2 separate regions of the Homo sapiens genome follow, and region 2 is linked to region 1. Evidence: promoter capture Hi-C in 16 types of primary human blood cells and fetal thymus (Javierre and others, 2016). All regions are on one chromosome and are shown on one strand. The core of a region is centred on a gene start or on the middle of the fragment in contact, and the rest is flanking DNA. Distances in the headings are between cores, read along the strand shown.

The links. Contacts are between HindIII fragments. The CHiCAGO score rates a contact against its expected background, and 5 or more counts as called.
Region 2: a fragment that was not itself captured here is called in contact with the fragment with the promoter of KCNQ1DN in region 1 in 1 of 17 cell types (M1 macrophages); the score reaches 5.5 in M1 macrophages.

The regions. Positions count from the first base shown.
Region 1 is chr11:2,866,329-2,873,876 of GRCh38, forward strand. KCNQ1DN (KCNQ1 downstream neighbor) reads left to right here and starts at 3,705. Exons shown (of 2, transcript NR_024627.1): 1 at 3,705-4,536; 2 at 5,517-5,777. RefSeq lists a cis regulatory region at 828-2,596 and an enhancer at 2,596-3,104. The HindIII fragment of the contact is 4,919 bases long and covers 2,212-7,130 here.
Region 2 is chr11:2,240,731-2,248,278 of GRCh38, forward strand. No RefSeq gene overlaps it. Among named protein-coding and RNA genes, the nearest start is that of ASCL2, 26 kb to the right of the region's middle. The HindIII fragment of the contact is 611 bases long and covers 3,690-4,300 here.

The DNA.
Region 1 (7,548 bases), core at 2,455-4,954:
TGTGTCTGCCACTGGGCAGGCTGGCCAAGGCTCAGAGAGGTCAACTAACCTGCCTAGGTTGCACAGCAACAGAGCAGCGGGTGCGAGAGCAGACGTCAGGGCTGGGCCCAGGTCATCCTGCAGAGCTGGGGGGTGGGTCTCGCTGTTGGGCCCTGTTGGGCTTTTATTCAGATTTAGGAATTTCTTGGGGGGCGGGGGCAGGGGCAGATTTGGGAAAGAGAAGAAAAAGTAGGAACGAGAGAAGAGAGAAGAAAAGGCAAGGAAAGCCCAAGGCCGAAGCAAGAGAGCAAAATAAGCAGAAGACACCACGGGTGTGGGGCTGGCAGCACCGCACTGAGAGCCCCTGGCAGGGAACCAGCCCCTGGAGGTGCCCCTGCCTTCTCCCCACAGCCTGGCATGGTGCCGGCTTCCAGAGGAGCCTCGTTTCTCAGTGAGGGGGGCGGGAGGGGGTGAGACAGCATCCGTGTCTAGACGCTTATCCTTTGAGGAGAATACCAGGGTCCCCAAATGCCACTTGAGATCTCTCTGAAATGCAGGAGGCCCTGGAGCCTGCATTTGTCATCAGCCTCAGTCACCACACCTACCCCCAGCTCAGGAGCAGGTGCCACAGCTCAACCTGGCTCTCATGCTGAACCAGGTCCCCAGAGGTCTGGACATTGCCACTCACCAGCAGGCATCCCGGGCCACAGGGCAGGACGCCCAATCTGGAAGCCCAGTGTTATGGGAGGAATCGTATCCCCCAAAAATCATATGTCGAAGCCCTCACCCCCAGCACCTCAGCACATGACTGTATGTGGATACAGGGTTTTACAGAAAACAGTTAAAATGAGGCCATTGGTGTGGGCCTAATCCAACAGGACTGGGGTCTTTATAAGGAGAGGAGGACACAGGCACACTCAGAGGCATGACCCTCCCAGGACACAGGGAGAAGGTGACGTCTGCAAGCCAAGGAGAGAGGCCTCAGGAGGAACCAGCCCTGCCGACTCCTTGATCGTGGACTCCAGCCTCCAGGACTGGTAGATGATAAACATCTGCTGTCTCAGCAGCCCTGTCTGTGATGCTTTGTGATGGCAGCTCCAAGGCAGGAATACACCCAGCATCCACAGAGGGATTACATCTGTCCAGGCCCGCACAGCCAGGGCAGACAGAGAGACCACACCCCAGCCCTCCAGACCAGTGGAAACCCCCACGTACCCCTGGCTCAGAGACCTTCTCTGACTGAGCGCATGAAGCTGGCTCTTCCTGGCTAGTTTCCCTCAGATGCATCATCCCAACACCTAGGGGCACATTGTGCAAGTAGAGAGTCCCCCAGTATACCATTTTCCAAGGCAGAGACAAAAAAAAAGCCATGTGCAGAGTTGACGTCTGTATACCCCTAATGCTAATTGGGGACAGTGGCATTTAGTTCTGAGTGGCTGACGGCTTTGGTGACCTGGACAATCAGGGCCTGCCTGAAGAACCAGGGGCTGCCGGAGGCGCTGGGCCTCCCTCCCACTCACCGGGGCCTTCATTAACAGCCGCGTCCAGACCAGCTGGAGTCAGCTGATTAGCCCATTCTAAGTGGCATTGGGAGTCCCCCCACCCCCTGTATCTATTTTTTCACCCGCACATGTTCAATTCAATTTTGCTTTTGTGCCAGAGAGGCCTCTGATGTGAGTGTTTCTGGGGAGTTTTTCCATGTTTCTTTATGTCCTCGAAACCAAAGTCAGTCACCAACTTTCAGAAAACACCCTCCTGGATTGAAGCGGGTAAGAGGAAAGAAAAACACACAACACAAAACAAAAGCAAAAGAAAACAAAAGAGAAAGCACTGGCTGCCTTTCTACAGAATCCTCCTGCGAGGAGACAATTCATTTCAATTGAAACGTTTCCATTGTGCGGCATTCGGAACGCGCTCCTCGCGTTGGGCAGAAATGCAAATCCCCCTTTTTCCTTTGATTCAAATATTTAAATTTTCAAATATATATGCTGCGACAATTGAATGGCAGCTGACCTCACTTATTTTCATAGAAGCAATGCGGAAGCCACAGGCTGCAGTTAATCTCGCCAGCAGCGCCCCGCCTGCTGACAGCGGTACGGTCAGTCCTGGGGGGGCGCAGGGAATAATCCTTTTATTCAGACATTTGGCTTAAAAGAATAACAAGGAGGAAAAGCTGGAACATAATTGCATTGCATGGAAAACAGAGAAAGATTTTTTTCTCTCTCTCTAACAAGCTTTCTCCTTTTCCTTCCTCAAAGAATCGGAGGCTCACGGCCAGAGGCTGTTTTCTTGGTAAAGAAATCGGGAGTGTTTTCCTTCCACTATTGTCCCCACTCCCGCCCACCCCCCGAGGGATTTTCATAGTTGGGTTGGCTGCCACACTGGCTCATCCATTCATTCATTCATTCACTCACTCACTCATTCTGCAAACTCGGAAGGAAGACCTACTGTCTGTCCAGCTCAGCTGGGCTGGGGGCAGGGCGAGCCAGACACTCCCCAGGCAGCCTTCCTCTCCTGGACTGGGACGCCCCCACAGAGCCACACCGTGACCCTCGGAGGCACCCTGAAGCATAACTGGGCCAACCGTGCCTGCAGGAAGCCCCTTTGTTCCTCCTTGGGGCCCCAGAGCACCTGAGTGAAAGAGTCTGAGACCGGAGGGGCAGCCAGAGGGGGCCCTGGAGGGAGGCGGAGGGACCCCCTCCCTGGGCCAGCCAGGCCAGCGTCTGCCAGAGTCGCTGTTGCTAAGTCCTCTTCTTGCAGCCTGGGGATCCCAGAGGACCCCGGCCCAGTCCATCAGCTGGGCTGGGTCTTTAATATTTAAAGAGCTCTCCCGGACATTTCAAGAACTCCCCGACACGATTTTCTGTGATGCGTGGGCTGTCGGGACATCTGTCTTCTATACCTAATAAAGTCGCCCGACGCAGAATGAACTCCTCGGCATCGCTTTGAATCCGGGCTCACATATGGTTGCTAATTAGCTGGCTATCTCTTGGAGTTAAATGATTTTTTTTCTCGCCCCGTTCGCATCCATAATAGACGCGAACAGAGTCGTGATTGTTCCCTGTTGCGGGACATTCTGCGCCTGAATGAGCGGGGGCTGCTGTGTCGACGCGGATTTGCCATATGGTTGCGCGGAGCCAGGAAGAATGGGCCCCTGTGTGTGCGACCGGGACGCAGCGGCGCGGGCCGTGCCAGCCGGGCGGAGCCGGGTGCCCGACGGCGCAGGACGAGCGGGCGCAGGACGAGCGAGCGCAGCGGGCGCGGGCGCACCGTCGGGGCGCGGGGACCCCGAGGGCCAGCGGAGCCGTGCTGCGCGCAGGGATGGACGCTGGGCGCCCAAGGCCCGTTCCCGTGGACAGGCGCGCGGAGGGCAGCAGGACCGATGCACCGACGGACGCACCGACGGACGCGCGGACAGATGCGCCGACCGCAGGCTCTCCCGCCGTCCCGGGGCCGTCGTGCCCGTGCAGGCCGCGAGCAGCGGCGGGGCCGGCTCTGCGGCTGCAGCAGCCCCATTGTGAGGCCGGCGAGACAATGGGCGGCCCGAGGAGGCACCTGCTCGCCTGAAAGGCCCATAAATCGCCGCCGCGTCCAGCTGCCTTCCCGCCCCTCCCCGCGGACCCGCTAGCGGGAAGCGCGGCCGCGGCCGGGAGGGGGAGGCTCGGTCCGACAGTCGGGCAGGGCCGCCTGGGCCACCGCCGCGCGCTCCCTCCCGCCTGGGCGCAGCTGCCCGCACGCCCCGACGGGAGCTGCGCCCAGCCTCCCCTCTGGAGTCGGCGCTCCAGGCTGCTGCCCGGCCGGTGGCCAAGGCCCCAGCACCACCGTCCCTCCTGCAGGGCATCCAGCACCTACCCTTCCACTGGGCGGCTCCTGGTTCTGGTCCCGGCTGGCTCACTCAGGCTGCCTTTGGACCAGATTCTTGAACTTTTCCACCAAGGATGTTGCTGCTGTTTGTAGCGTCGGATCCTGGAAAATCGCTGTGTTGGGGAGCAGCAGGCTCTCCCTTGCTCCCCCAGGGCCTGGGAAAATCAACCCACCTCTGCCCCCCGACCCCAGGGCTGTAACCTGGTGTCTGGTAGCCCCACTGTGATAAACCGAAGCCCAGCACAGTTTGGGACTCGCCCCGAGTTGACTTATGCAGCCCCCAGAACAGAGGCTGAAACCCGGCGCATCCTGGTGAAGCCACACCCAGCCGGCCTGGTCCCAGGCCCCGGGCACGGGGTCCCCTCCACTCCCATCTGCTTCCCTTTCAGAGCCGGGGCTGAGTCGGCAGGGACGCAGGCTCAGGGCCCTGGATTCCCGCTTTCTGGACACTTGCGTGCATGCCCAGCACCAGCTCGCCCTTCTGAGAAAGCAATCCCTCCTCAGAGGGGAGAAGCCGTGGCTGTGATGGGCAGGAAGTGGTCAGGACCCACTGCCGAGCACCAACTCCCCATGCCACCACCAGGGGTGCGCCTGGACTCCTGGAAAGGGGTCGCGTCAGGGTGCAGCCCATCAAAGGCTTCCCAAGAGGCAAGAGGCAAGGAGAAGTGTCCTACTTTAAACGGCCAGCCTCAGGTGAGCACCAGAGATCGGGCCCAGACCTGTGTAGAGAAAAGGAGGCAATGGCCCCTGGCTACAGACAAGGACCCTGAGGCTGCCCTCTTCCCTCTGCACCTTTGGTTAGGCACTGCCTCTCTGTGTGGAAGGAGCAGGACTCGGTCCCAAGACCATTTGGCCACGCTGTGCCCTCGGGACCAGCACGTGCTGGCACCCCGATCCCACTGGGACTCTCTTCCAGGAAAAGGCTTGTGTTCAGTTCCCAGGGCTCTGCCAACACCAGCCCTGTGCTGGCTGCCTGCAGCAGGCACCCCATGGGGACCACATCCCTGGGCCTGGAGGAGCTGGCTGAGACAGAGGCGGGCCCGAGGCCAGGCCTTTGCCCGCCACTGCTGCTCCAGGCACTCCTGGAGGGCTCTGAGCATGCTCCTTAGGTCTCCCGGCTGCAGGGAGGACACTCACTCCCACCCCCAGGTGTCTGGTGCTTTGATTTTAATTATTTCTAGCCTTCCAGTGCCATCTCTTATCGCCCCCTCCCCAGTCTCCTAATAAAGGGCCAGCGCCCCCCGCCTTCCTCTAGCCTCCCTGACATATTAGAAGAATGTTTTTCCATTTCCTTTGATGTCTGTTACAAGTTGCATCTCATTTCCTGCTTGGGCATTTCTGACCTCGAGTGACTCCGGCCGCCGTGGCTGCGTGGCTGGTCTGCTCCTCATACCCCGCCCAGACGCCAGCTTGAGAGGATTTGGTCCTCCGTGTGCCGCCACCGCCAACTCAGTTTCCCCCTACCCTCCCCACTTTGTTTTCTGGGGCTCCAAGGGGGAGGTCAGGCCCTCAACCCTGTTTCCATGGAGAGGGCTCCTCACGGGGGGCGGGGGGGCATCCCTCCATGGGACAGGGAGGGCTCCTCACGGTTGAGGGGGGCGCCCATCCTTCTATGGGGCTTCCTAAAGACCTGCATTCTTCCCTTCATTTTTCTGGGATTACTCCCCTTTCAGTGGTCGGCCCTGTTCACTCTGCCACCTCAGAGAGAGTGAACCCAGCAGAGGTGTGACGGGAGGCTGGGGAGAGACCCCAGCACCTTGAGCACACAGGAGCCAGGAGGAGCCCAACAGAGCAGCAGGGGCTGGGGTCTTCTCCTGAAGCCTGACTCCATGGGACCCCAAAGAAGCAGATGGAAAACTGAAAAAGAAAACCCCTCAAGTGAGCCACTGGAAAGAAAGCAAAACAAGAGAAAATAAATGAGTTGTTTGACATAATTTAACTTGTCTGTTTTTCCATCTTCCTTCCTGCTCACCCCACCATCACCGTGGCCCCATCTAGTTGAGGCACACAGCTCTGGGCTTAAAGGAACCAAGGGGCATGTCTCAGAGCAGTCTCCAAATTGGGTGCTAGGACCCAAGAAATGCAGAGAGGGCAGTGGCTGTGAGAGAGGTTTGCATAAGAAAACAGACAAGACAGAACTTGGTTTTATCTTTTTTTTTTTTTTTTTTTTTTTGAGACAGAGTTCTGCTCTTGTTGCCCAGGCCAGAGTGCAATGGTGTGGTCTGGGCTCACTGCAACCTCTGCCCCCCGGGTTCAAGCGATTCTCCTGCCTCAGCCTCCCTCTCGAGTAGCTGGGATTACAGGCGCCCACCACCACACTCAGCTAATTTTTTTTTTTTTTTTTTTTGTAATTTTAGTAGAGACAGGGTTTTGCCATGGTGGCCAGGCTGGTCTCGAACTCTTGACCTCAGGTGATCTGCCCGCCTGAGCCACCCAAAGTACTGGGATTACAGGCATGATCCACCACGCATGGCCAGTTTTGCCTTAAAACCACAGCTAGACTCCTCCACAGGGACCAGGACCTAGGCCATGTCTGTCCTGGCTGCAGAGGTGGGTCAGCCCCATACAGTGCTCTCTGGAAGAGAAACAGGGAGCAGCGTGGCTCCTGCACAGAGGCACCTGGCTGGCCCTTGGCCTACTGGTAGCCTCCAAGGGTAGATGCCAGGTATCTCAGTCCATTTGTGCCACAGTAACAAAATACCTGAGACTGGGTGATTTATTTTCTATTTTTTATTTATTTATTTATTTATTTATTTTTGAGATGGGGTTTTGCTCTTGCTGCCCAGATTGGAGTGTGATGGCACGATCTTGGCTCACTGCAACCTCTGCCTCCCAGGTTCAAGCGATTCTCCTGCCTCAGCCTCCTGACTAGCTGGGATTACAGGCATGTGCCACCACACCCGGCTAATTTTGTATTTTTAGTAGAGATGAGGTTTCTCCATGTTTGTCAGGCTGGTCTCGAACTCCTGACCTCAGGTAATCCACCCACCTTGGCTTCCCAAAGTGCTGGGATTACAGGTGTGAGCCACTGCGCCTGGCTAATTTTCTAGGTTTAGTAGAGATGGGGTTTCTCCATGTTGGTCAGGCTGGTCTTGAACTCCTGACCTCAGGTGATCCACGAGACTGGGTGATTTATAAATAACAGAAATGTATTTCTCACCGTTCTGGAGGCTGGGAAGTCCAAGATCAAGGTGCCAGTGCAATCAGGGTCTGGTGAGGGCTCTCTGCTTCCAAGATGGCACTGTGTTGTAAGTGAAGCGAACGCTTTGGGAAGCCTCTTTTATAAAAGCTTTAATCTCACTCAGAGGGAGGAACCCTCAGGCTTAAATACCTCCTAAAGGCCCTATTTCTTTCTCTCTTCTTTTTTTTTTTTTTTTTTTTTTTGTGAGACACAGTCTTGCTCTGTTGCCCAGGCTGGAATACAGTCGTACCATCTCAGCTCACTGCAACCTCCACCTCCTGGGTTCAAGCAGTTCTCCCTGCCTCAGACTTCCAAGTACCTAGGTAACAGGTGCCCACCACCATGCCCAGTTAATTTTTGTATTTTTAGTAGAGATGGGGTTTCACCATGTTGGCCAGGCTGGTCTCAAACTCCTGACGTCAGGTGATCTGCCCACTTCGACCTCCCAAAGTGCTAGGATTACAGGCGTGAGCCACTGTGCCTGGCCCTTTTTTTTTTTTTTTTTTTTTTTTTTTGACAGGATC
Region 2 (7,548 bases), core at 2,745-5,244, 630 kb before region 1:
GAAATACACCCGCAGGAGCCAATCAACTCCCAACAGACCCCACCTCCAACACTGGGGATTATGTTTCAACATAAGATTTGGGTGAGGATGTAGATGCAAACCATATCACAGCACCTGGGCCAGGTGATAAAAGTCAACATCAAGAGCAATAAGCCATGTTGATAATATAGAGCCTTAATATGATGCGAATGGCATTACCTCTGTCATCTTACTCAAACCCATAATCCCAAATTAATCCTGAGAAATCAGACAAATCCCAATTGAGGAAAATGCTACAAAACACCTGACTAGTATTTCTCAAAAACTGTCAAGGTCATCAAAAGAAAGCAAAGTCTGAGAAAACGTCACCAGCAGGAGGAAGCTATGGAAACATGACTGCTAAATGTAACATGGTATCCCGGATGGGAATCCTGCAACATTAGGGGAAAACTGAAGGAATCTGAAAAAAACTATAGACTTTACTTAATAATAATGTATACATATTGGTTCATTAACCATGATAATGTTCCATACCAATGTAAGATGGTGATAATAGGACAAACTGGGTGTGGGGTTTATGGGAATTCCCTGTACTATCTTTGCAACAATTCTGTAAATCTAAAACTGTTCTAAAATGTAAAACTTTATTGAAACTGTCATAATAGGCAAAAAAATCCAAATTTGAGAAAACCTATAAACACACAAATCTAAAAATTTTAATGAGTCCCAGCATAAGAATCACTATCACTAAGAAAATTACACTAGGGAAGATAATAATCAAATTTCTCAAAATCAGTATTAAAAATAAATCTTAAAAGCAGCCAGAGGGGGAAAAAGACACATTACATACAAAGAAAGAAAGAAAGATAAGAGTGACATTTCTTACCAGAAATAAATCAAAGAATAAAAGGGTGAGCAGCATCTTTAAAATAGGGAAAGCAAATAAATTGCCAACTGGAATTCCCTATTCAGTGAAAATATCTTCCAAAATGAAAGTGAAATCGACTTTTTCAGATATACAAAAGCTACAAGAATTAATTGTCAACTGACTTGCACTGTAAGAAATGTTAAAGGAACTTCTTCACGCAGAAGAAAAGTGATATCAAATAAATATATGGATCTCAAAGCAATAAAGAGCACAGAAATGATAACTACATGGGTAAATATGTACTTTTTATCTTGCTATTTACATATCTTTAAAAGATAATTATAGTTGTAACAATACCAAAATAATTCAAGATGTTAACAATAGAGTAAACTGAATGTGGCATAGACTGGGAACTCTCTGTACTAACTTTACACATTTTCTGAAAAGCTAAAACTATTCTAAAATAAAAAATTTATTTAAATATTAACTTAATAATGAGAAACAATATAGTGTGAGGTTTATAATATGCAAGTAAAATGCAGGACAATAATAGCATAAAAGTGAGGAGGGAAGAAATGGAAATATACTATTGTAAAGTTTTTATGCTATGTATGATGTGGTCAAATATCACTTGAAGAAAGACTGATAAGATAAATATATGCATTAGAAATCCTAAAGCAACCACTAAAATAATGAAACAAATGGCTATAGATCATAAGCCAACAAAGGAAAGAAAATGATATCATGAAAAATACTCAATCTGAAGAAAAAAACAGATGAAGCAAATATAAAACAAATTACAAAATAATGGACTTAATTCCAATTATATCAACAATTACATTAAATATAAATGATCTAAACACCTTCATTAATATACATAGATTGTTGGGTTGCATAGAAAAAGCAAGACCCATAAATATATATATGCTGCCTACCAAAAATACACTTTAATTATAAAGACATAAGTAGGTTAGAAGTAAAAGAATTTTAAAAAGCATAAGCAAAACTAGCACCAATCAAAGCCAGAATAGCTATGGTAATATAAGGGAAGCAGATTTAAAAGCAAAGAATATTACTGGGACAAAAAAGGTCATTTCATAATGATATAAGAGTCAGTCCATCAAGAGGATTTAGTAATCAAAATGTTTATACACCCAGTAACAGAGCCTTAAAACAAATAAAGCAGAAAACTGACCAAATTACTAGGAGAAATAGACAAATTCACATTATAACAGGAAATTCAATATTCCTCTTTCAATAATAGAACAAGTAGACAGAGAATTGGTAAGGATATAAGAGACTTGAACAAAACAATCAACTTGATTTAGCTGACACTAATAGGACGCTCCACCTGATAACAACACAATACATAATCTTCTCAAGTGCACAAGGAGCATTTACTGAGACAGATCTTACTATGGGCCATAAAACAAGTCTCAGTAATTTCAAAAGGATTCAAGCAACACAAAGTATGCTCTCTGACCAAAAAGAAATTGAATTACAATTCAAAATTAAATTCAAAGTTAACAGAAAGAAGGAAACAATAAAAATCGAGAAGTAAATCAAGGAAACAAAGCACAGGGAAAAATGAGAAAAAAATCAATAAACCAAAAATGGATTCTTTTTGAGAAAATCAATCAAATTGCTGAACTTCTACCAAGATTAATCAGGAAAAAAAAGACAGAAACTGCCAGTATTAGGAAGTAAGAGAGATGACATCATTTACAGATTCTACAGATATCCAAAGGATAATACGGGCTATTACAAATAACTTTATTCTGATAAATTGACATCTTAAACAAAATGAACAAATTCAATGAAAGACTGAAATTACCAAAACTCATACAAGAAAAAATAGATAACCTAAATACACTCACAAACACAAATTAAATTTCTAGTAAAAATTCTATTCACAAAGAAAACATCACAGCATCACTGGTAAATTTTACCAAACATTTAAAGAAAAAGGATACCAATTCTAGAAACACTCTTTCTAAAAATTAAAGAAGAGGGAATACTCCTTCACCATTTCTATGAGACCAGGATTATTACCCTGATACCAAAAGTAGGCAAAGACATTACAAGAAGAGAAAACTAAGGCTAAAACCTGTCATAAAAATAGATGCAAGAATTCTAAACAAAATTTTATCAAATCAAGCCTGAAAATATGTAAAAAGGATAATATCTCATGATCAAGTGTGGTTTCAGAATACAAGGTTGGTTTAACACTCAAAAATCAATCAATATAAATTTTCATATTAATGAAACTAGAAAAGGAAAAGCATATTATTATCAATATACATATGTGCACTGGTTAGGGTTCTCCAGAGAAACAGAACCAACAGGGGTGTGTGCGTGTGTGTGTGTGTGTGTGTGTGTGTGTGTGGAGAGAGAGAGACACACAGAGAGAGAGAAAAAGAGAGAGAAAATCCAAAATCGGCAGGGTAAGTGGCAGACTGGAGCCCCAGGAAAAAGCTGCAGCCCAAATCCAAAAGCAGTCTGCTGGCAGAATTCCTTCTGGCTTAGAGAAAGTCAATCTTTGTTTTGTTAAGGCCTTCGTCAACTGCTTAGATGAGGACTATGGTTCAAGCTTGTCCAACCTGTGGCCCATGGGCCACATGCAGCCAGGCACTGCTTTCAATGCAGCCCAACACAAATTAGTAAACTTTCTTAAAACATGAGACTTTTTTGCAAAATTTTTTTTAGCTCATCAGCTATCATTCGTGTTAGTATATTTTATGTGTAGCCCAAGACAATTCTTCTTTTCCCAGTGTGGCCCAGGAAAGCCAAAAGATTGGACACCCCTGGTTTAGATGTTTGTCCCCTCCAAACTTCATACTGAAGCTTGATCCCCGATGTTAGAGGTGAGGCCTAATGGGAGGTGTTTTGGTGATGAGGCCAGATCCCTCCTGAATAGATCCTCCCTCAAGGATGAGTCAGTTCTTTACTGGTTGCTGTTTATTAAAAGAGCCTGGCATCTCCCCTTCTTTGCTCGCTCTTGCTTTCTCTCTCACCATGATGCAGATGCCCAATCTTGAAATTTTCGGCCATAAGAATCATGAGCCAAATAAATCTTTTTTCTGTATAGATCTCCAGTCTCAGGTATTTCTTTATAGCAACACAAAATGAACTAAGACAAGGACCCTGCACATTGTGGAGGTTAATCTGCCCTACTCGGAGTTCACCAATTTAACATTAATCTCATCCAAAAGTTACCTTAGCTGAAGCATCTAGAATAATATTTGACCAGACATCTAGGCACAGTAGTCCAACCAATTTGATACATAAAATCAACCACCGCAATGCTAAGAAAAAGTATCTAACAAACAATATACAATATCCTTTCCTGATAAAAACTCTCAGCAAATTAGGAATAAAAGGGAATTTCTTCAACCTGATAAGGAGTATCTATGAAAAACTTACAGCTAACATATTTAATGGTAAACGATTGAAAGCTTTCTTCCTGAGATGGGAAACAAGGTGAAGATATCTGCTCTACCCAGTGTAATAAGAAAATAAAAAGAAACAAATACACCCAGATTGGAATGGAAGAAGAAAAACTGTCTTAATTTATACAAGAAATGATTGCCTATGTAGATGGTCAAACAGAATCTACATGAAACACACAAAGAACAATCAGACATTGAAATTTTACTAGCATAAAAATGCAAAATACTGCGAGAGAAATCTAAAAAAATATGTACAAGTCTGGTGTACTGAAAACTATAAAACATTCCTGAGAAAAAACAAGTAATACCCAAATAAATAAAGAAATATACTGAGTCCTAGATTGAAAGACTCAGAATTATTATCAGGATGTCAGTTTCTGACAAATTCATCTATAGATTCAACGTAATCTCAATCAGCACCCCAGCAAGCTTTCTGTAGAAACTGACAAACTGATTTTAAAATTCCTATGGAAATCCAAAGGACCTACAGTAACCAAAACATCTTTGAAACAGAACAACATACTTAGAGGACTTACTGTATCTGATTTCAAGGTTATAAAATTATAATAATTAAGACAGTGTTCTACTGGCATAATGATAGAGAAGTAAATCAGTGGAACAGATCAGATAGCCAAGAAATAGACTCACACATGAGGACAGCTAGTTTGACAAAGGTGCAAAGTCAGTTTAATAGAGAAATTGTATCTTTTCAACCAATGATGCTGGAACAATTGGATATCCACCTGCAAAAAGACAAAATAACTTTGACCAATTCCTCAAGCTGTATTCAAATTCATTAATGTAAAATGAATTAGTAACCTAATATAAATGTAAAACTGTGAAACTGTTAGATGAAAACATGGTGGAAAATCTTTGTGACCTTAGATTAGTCACAGAAAGGATATGACGGCAAAGGCACAATTCATAAAAGAAAGGTGGCTAAATGGAATGTCATCAAAATTTAAAAATTCCACTCTTTTGAAAGGCAGTCATAAGAGAATAAAGAAAGCAAGCCATCAGCTGATAGGAAATATTCACAAATCATATTACGATGAAGGACTTATATCCAGAATATTCATTGCATATTCTCTGTGTATTTTCAAAAATGAATAGTAAGAAAACAACCCTATAAAAATGAGCAAAAAAGATATACAGATATCTCCTACACACTTGACCAAAGAAGATATATGGATAATAAATAAGGTCATGAAAACATGCTCAACATCATTAATCATTAGGAAAATGAAAATTAAAAATCGTAATGAGATATCGCTACACACCTATTAGAATGGTTAAATTTTCTTGCTTTAAAACTGATCATACCAACTTTTGGCAAAGGTAGGAGAAACTGTAATTCTCATGCACTGTGAGTGGGAAGATTAATGGTACAACCCCTTTAAAAAATGATTTGGTAGATTCTTAAAAGGTGAAACACACACCGGCCGGCCATATGATCCATCCATTCCACTCCTAGGTATTTATTCAAGAAAAATGAAAGCATTTGTCTCCACAAAGACTTGTTCATGAATGTTTATAGCATTGGATCATAGATAGCCCAAACCAGAAACAATCCAAGTGACGCCTAACAAGTGAAGGTATAAGCAAATATACCCATTCATGTTATTTATCAATAAAAATAAATGAACGATTGATACCTGCAACAATATCAATGAATCTCAAAATAAGTATATGGCATGAGATAAGCCAGACAAAAGAATACATCCTGTATGTGTCCATTGACATAACACCGTAGAATGCAAAGAATACCTGATAGAAGGCGGATCAGTGGTTACCTAAGGCTGGGGAGGAGGGGTGGGAGGAAGGGATTACACAGTTGTAATTTAATTACGAATTTAAAACTTACAAGAAATTGTTGACGGTGATGATGGTCTCACTGTTGTACACATATGTCAAAATTCATAAAACTCTGCATTTTGGCCCAGTGTGGTAGCTCACGCCTGTAATCCCAGCACTTTGGGAGGCTGAGGCAGGTGGATCACCTGAGGTCAGGGGTTCCAGACCTGCCTGGCCAACGTGGTGAAACCTCATCTCTATTAAAAATACAAAAAACTTAGCCGGGCGTGGTGGCACGCACCTATAGTCCCAGCTACTCAGGAGGCTGAGGCAGGATAATTGCTTGAACCCTAGATGCAGAGGTTGCATTGAGCCGAGATTGCACCACTGCACTCTAGCCTGGGCAACAGAGAGAGACCTATCTAAAAAAAAAAAAAAAAAAAAAAAAAAAAAAAAACAAAAAAAAACCTCTATATTTTAAATATGTGTAGTTTATTGTATGTCAGTTAGCCCCCAATAAACCTATAACTTCCCAGGGGAAATGGCTGAGATTGATGCCACCTTCAAAGAGTTAAAGAAGGCCTAGGTAGTAACCCCCACCATCTCTCTCGTGATTTCCCCTCTCTGGCCTCTCTGCAGACTGGCTGAATCAGAATAGATGATTGCAGACCTCAAACTCAACCAAGTAGCAACACCAAATGGGCTGCCAGGCCAGATGTGGTATCTTCGTTTAATCTTAGATTAAATTAGATTCATTTAATCTAAGATTAAATTAACACTGCCCCTGGTACCCGGTATCAGTAGCTACGGATTCTGTGAATGAATTCTCTTCCATCTCATCAGGAGAGAGTGTGAGAAGCAATTTGCATTCGCACAGGAGGGACAACAGTACACAGTCACAGTTTTGCCCCAGGGATATGTTAATTCTTCTGCTCTTTGTCACAGTATAGTCCAAAGGGAAAAGGCCCTCTGGACATTCCACAGATTATCACGTTAGTTCACTATACTGATGGCAGTCTGTTAACTGGATCTGACGAGCAAGCAGGGGAAAGTACTCTGGACGCCCCAAGTAAGGCACACGAGCCAGGCTGGGAGATAAATTCCACGAAGCTTTAGAGGCCTGCTACATCATGATCTTATTACCATGAAGTTATTGCCATAAAATCTGGCAAATCCCATGGTACAAGAGGTATTTGCAATGGAGAAAGACACCACACACACAGAGCCCCTGGAGAACTTCAAAGAAGAGTCATGGCCCAGACTCCTTGGGCTCTGGAAGAAGGCCGTGCAGAGAACGATACCATTCAGAAAGAGGTTCCTGCTCTCCTGTGGGAACCTCTAGAGAAAGAGTTTCTGGTCATGGACGTTAAGTGACCATGTGGTCAGAGATGCCCATCTTGAGCTAGGATCTGTTAAACCCACCAAATCAGAAGGTCAGGCAAGCCCAGCAGCATCCAG